Linked DNA regions of Homo sapiens: region 1 is linked to region 2. Evidence: promoter capture Hi-C in 16 types of primary human blood cells and fetal thymus (Javierre and others, 2016). All regions are on one chromosome and are shown on one strand. The core of a region is centred on a gene start or on the middle of the fragment in contact, and the rest is flanking DNA. Distances in the headings are between cores, read along the strand shown. Region 1 overlaps FAF2 (Fas associated factor family member 2). Region 2 holds the start of CDHR2 (cadherin related family member 2).

Region 1 (2,700 bases), core at 108-2,607, 74 kb after region 2:
GGAGGTGGAGCTTGCAGTGAGCTGAGATAGCGCCACTGCACTCCAGCCTGGGTGACAGAGGAAGACTCCATCTCAAAAAAAAAAAAAAAAAAAAAAATTAGTTCAGCATGGTGGTGCTGCGTGCCTGTAGTCCCAGATACTCTCGGGAGGCTGTGGTGGGGGAATCGCTTGAACCCAGGAGGCAGAGGTTGTGGTGAGCCGAGATCATGCCAATGCCCTCCAGCCTAGGTGACAGAGCGAGACTCCATCTCAAAAAAAAAAAAAAAAAAAAAAAGGGACTCTAATCTTACCATCTTCCCCAGTGTGCAAATGACTGCTCCCTCCTCTAAATACCAAAATTGTTTTCTACGTCTCTTATGTGCCTATTGTTTCCTATCTTATGATTATTTACATTCATTCTATTGCCTTCTCAGAGGGTGTAATGTAAGTTCTCTGAGAGCAGGGAACAATTCACTGTAATATTCACTAGTACCAGGCACACACTATGGGCTTAAATCGTAGAAGAATCAGTCCAAGTTAAAAGGACCTTTTTGTATAAGCTTCAGTCATCATAGCTATAAGCTGAAATCCTCTAGATATTATCACAAAATCTCACTTTACATTAATACACTGTTTTTTTTGTTTTGCTTTGTTTTTTTAAGACAGGTTCTGTCTGGCTCTGTTGTCCAGGCTGGAGTGCAGTGGAACGATCTTGGCTCACTTGCAACCTCTGTCTCCCGCTCTCAAATGATCCTCCCATCTCAGCCTCCGAGCAGCTGGAACCACAGGTGTGCGCCACCACACTTGGCTAATTTTTCTATTTTTCTTGGGTAGAGACAGGATTTCACCATGTTGCCCAGGCTGGCCTTGAACTCCTGGGCTCAAGCGATCCTCCCGCCTTGGCCTCCCAATGTGTTGGGATTATACACGTGAGCCACCATACCTGGTTACTGGGGTTTTTTAACTTCAAATGTTCTGACTAGATGCCAAGCTGGTTGTTAAAACATTACAAATTTGTAGAATTTTCCTGAAAATCAGTAAGTCAGGAAAGAGCTCAGGAAGCAGTGTTTGTTCTTAAAGCTCCTCAGCTGATTCTAATGTACAGCCGAGCTGGGAAATCCGTGGTATTGATAGTAATTCTTTTTTTTTTTTTTTAGACGAAGTCTCGCTCTTGTCCCCCAGGCTGGCGTGCAATGGCACGGTCTCGGCTCACTGCAACCTGCGCCTCCTGGGTTCAAGTGATTCTCCTGCCTTGGCTCCCCAAGTAGCTGGGATTACAGGTGGCTGCCACCACGCCTGGCTAGTTTTTGTATTTTTAGTAGGGACGAGGTTTCACCAGGCTGGTCTCGAACTCCTCACCTCAGGTGATCCACCCGCCTCGGCCTCCCAAAGTGTTGGGATTACAGGCGTGAGCCACCGTGCCCGGCTGGTATTGATATGTAATTCTAAGTAGGAATAGAGATTATAAATCCCTCACTAAAGTAACTTTTAGGCTACGCACAGTGGCTCACACCTGCAATCCTAGCACTGTGGGAAGCCAAGGTGGGTGGATCACTTCAGCCCAGGAGTTAAGACCAGCCTGGCCAATATAGAGAAACTCCATCTCTATAAAAAATACAAAAAAAATTAGCCGGGTGTGGTGGTGCGCCTGTAGTCCCAGCTACTCAAGAAGGATCATCTATTCAGGATCACCTGAGCCTGAGGAGGTCAAGACTGCAGTAAACTGCGCCACTGCACTCCAACTTGGGCAACAGAGAGACCTCATCTCAATAATAATAATAATAACCTTAAATAAATGGTTATAAACATTGCAGGAGAGAACAGAGTGACTGCCATCTTTAATATACTGAAACACTTAACCTAATTTATAACCAAAACACTTTTTAAGTAGTGAAGCAGGGTGAGCTGGAAACCCAACTGAACAAGCCTGCTTTCAATTACTACTGATCAGTACTAAAACTATGCCCTAGAAATAAGTGATGCTGGACACACCTGGGACAGGATTATTCATTCATATATCAACATACATTCACTATATATCCAGGATACAGATACAGTCCCTGCCCTGTTTAAATTTTCATCCTAGTAAATGGAGACTGGTCAAAACAAACCACACATACTGAAGAAAATACACTAACAAAATTTTCATTTTGTTCTAGAAGATTCCTTTAGATTGGGTGCTCAAGGAAAGCTTCCTCAAGGAGATAATATTTGAGCAGAGATCTGAATGAAAGATAAGGGGCCAGTCATGGGGAAATATCTGGGAAGAGTATTCCAGGCAGAAGGCCAACATATGCAAAAACTGTGAGACAGATAAAAACCCACAGACCTTTACAGCAGAGTGAACCTTAATGTATGTAAATTTAAAAAATCATTTAAGAGATCAGAGGCTCTCCGGATGGAACACAGACTTTGACAAAAGAATCTAATTGTCTAGAAAATATGTGAAACAACCTCACCAAAGGGGGAAGGGGGGTGCTAAGAAACTTTGGAAATGAAGTCTATAAGACTAAAGGCAACAGGAACTACACTTAAGCACTGTTCTCTACTTGATAAGGTTTTTCTCCATGGGAATACGTATTCTGAAGCCACTATATCTGCATATGTATCCCAGATTTGAACAATTAAGTAAAAAGATGGTGAATGATGAAAGCCAGTTTTCTGTCTGTAGAAGTGAGAGGTGACAGATAACCAAAGGAAGAAGGCTAGAATGGATAGAGT
Region 2 (2,700 bases), core at 68-2,567:
CTTTCACTTCTGCTTTTTCATTTACTTCTCACAGCTGTTCCCAAGCAGGAATTATCCTATCCTATTATTCCAAGGAAACCGAGGCTCATAGATGCCCAGAGATGGGTGAGCCAGGGGCAGCAGGTTAGACCCAGGCTGCCTCCAAATCCAGGGGTCCCTGGGCAAGCCTTGGTCTGGGCTCCGTTGATCCAGGAGGCCGTGCCTGCACCCACAGAGCGGACTCCAGCCGAGCCTGGGTGCCCGGAGCAAGGATGTGGGACCTGAGCACGCAGCTCCCCGCCACGGGCCCTCCCAGTGCCTATGGCCCAGGCCACCTGGCCCAGCAGACACATACAGACTCAAACAGCCCTGGGTTCAGATGGCAGCATTTCACATATTTGTTGTGCAACCCCAGGCAAGCCCTCTCCCCTCTCCAGGCCTCAGTTTCCCCTGCTGAGAAGCAGAGTGAGGATAAAAATCAAGGGGTCTACACACGGGCCATGACTTGTTTCCATCTGCCGGACCTCGGTGCTCACTGGGACCCTGCCTTGTGCCTGGTGCCCAACCCAGCACAGGCCTGCCTGAGTGACGCAGCATGGCCCCGACTCTCAGCTGGGTCACCACCTCCTCTACCAGGGCAGAGAGATGTGCAAGGCCCGGACTGGGCAGAGCTGGGGCCAGCCTGGGTCAGTCCCTGCCTGACACTTCCTAGCACTGGCTGAGGTGGCACTGGGCTCGGTCATAGGCCACATGCTCACCTTTGCCTCAGGGCTTTTCAGGCCCTTTCTGGAACTCTTCTCATCCCCATTTGATAAATGAGGAAACGGAGGCCCAGAAGAGTTAAGTAGCCCACCAAGGTCAGGGTGGAGCTGGGATGTGAACCGAGCAGCTGGGGTAAGAGCCCAGGTCAGCTTCCCCGTCCTCAACCCCTGAGCATCCTATGAAGGGGTCAGGCCAGTTACCTCGTTTCCCTGGGGTGCCTGCCTCCCTTCCATCCTCTGAAGAATCATCCCTTGAGGACTTGGATGGGAAGGGGGCCATCAGCCCCCAGGGAAGGAGGTATTATTATCCCATGTTTACCAAAGAAACAGGCCTCACAGCAGGCTGGGACCTGACCCGGCTCTGCCCCATCTAGCGTGTGACTTCCCCTGCCCAGCTTCAGGGGAGACTTTTAAAGACCCCCAAGCTTGCCTTGGCTCTAGGGATCCCCCCAACCCCCACATTTCTCTGGCCCAGAGACCCCCGATGAGCTGGATAGTCCCTACCTGTGTCCCCTTCGCCACGGAGGCGGCAGGCAGGCGCCGGACAGGCGCTGGCACACAGGTGGGCACCCTCTGCGGCCTGCAGCTATGTGGCCAGCAGACTTTGGCACCATCTCCACCTCCACTGAGCAATCATTAACCCTGCCAGAGACCACACCTCCCAGGAGGGGTCGACTCCTAATGAGGCAGAGTACAGCTGGGGGCGCCGGACAGGAGGAAGGGACCAAGGCGCCAGAGCTCCTGGCGCTCCTGGGGCTGGAGGCCCACACCACAGGAGAAGGGGCCTGGCCGACCCTGAGCCCAGAGGACCTGGGAACAAGGCCCAACACTGGGGCAGGCTGGAGGCGGGGACGGTGACAGTCAGAAGGTGATGCCAGAGCCCCCGTCCCCTCCCTGCTACGAGTCTTCAGTGACAGGGGATCTGTGGACAAGTGGGGGATTGAGTCAGGAGAGGGAAGTGGTAAAACAGTGTAACAATCAAACACTGTGTGGCCAGACCAGCCCCTGTGAGGTTCTCGTGGAGGACTGGGGGCTAGCTGAGCCTGGACAACCCACTTTCGAGCCTGTTGACACTGATCTCACCCCGCATTGAGACCCTCAAAAGGCATCTGCCCGTCCCCAGGGGCTTCATCCACTCCCAAGTTGCCTTTTTTTTTTAATTATTTATTTATTTTTGAGTCAGAGTCTTGCTCTGTCACCCAGGCTGGAGTGAAGTGGCACAATCTTGGCTCACTGCAATCTCTGCTTCCTGGGTTCAAGCAATTCTCCTACCTCAGCCTCTCGAGTAACTGGGATTACAGGCGTGGGCCTCCACACCCGGCTAATTTTTTTTGTATTTTTAGTAGAAACAGGGTTTCACCATGTTGGCCAGGCTGGTCTCGAACTCCTAACCTCAGGCGATCCGCCTGCCTCGGCCTTCCAAAATGCTGGGATTACAGGGATGAGCCACGGAGCTCGGCCCCCAGGCTGGCTTTAAGCGCTGCCCGATGTGGTGGCCTCCCGAAGGGGCTCAGCCACAAGTCCTTCTTATCCTCACTTTGGCCCAGCCATCACAGTTGACACAGAAAGGGGACCCTGGGCACAACTTTCTTAAGGCACACCACTGAGTCGTCACCATTGGGTGGCCCTCTTCTTGTGGGCAGAGGACATGTCTAATTCACAATAGATATATAGTCATGCACCATATATCTGTGTTTTGGTCAACAACGAACCACACATATAATAGCGGTCCCATAAGAGTATAATATCATCTTTCATGGCACCCTTTCTGTGTTTACATGCACAAATACTTACCCCTGTGTTACAGTTGCCTGCAGCGTGCGGTACAGTCCCAGGCTGCATAGGTTAGCAGCCCAGGAGCACAGGCGGTGGTATAGAGACTGGGTGTGTAGTAGGTGGTACCGCCTAGGTTTGTGTAAGTCACTGTGTGATGTTCACACAATGACGAAATTGCCTGATG

Evidence for each region. Contacts are between HindIII fragments. The CHiCAGO score rates a contact against its expected background, and 5 or more counts as called.
Region 1: a contact is called between a fragment that was not itself captured here and the fragment with the promoter of CDHR2 in region 2, in 1 of 17 cell types (non-activated CD4 T cells). The highest score is 5.6, in non-activated CD4 T cells.

What each region holds. Positions count from the first base shown.
Region 1 is chr5:176,474,202-176,476,901 of GRCh38, reverse strand. All of the region lies in intron 1 of FAF2 (Fas associated factor family member 2), which reads right to left. Among named protein-coding and RNA genes, the nearest start is that of FAF2, 27 kb to the right of the region's middle. The HindIII fragment of the contact is 1,631 bases long and covers 542-2,172 here.
Region 2 is chr5:176,547,959-176,550,658 of GRCh38, reverse strand. It overlaps CDHR2 (cadherin related family member 2), which reads right to left and starts at 1,317. Exons shown (of 32, transcript NM_017675.6): 1 at 1,245-1,317. RefSeq lists an enhancer at 112-1,045. The HindIII fragment of the contact is 9,099 bases long and covers 1,168-2,700 here.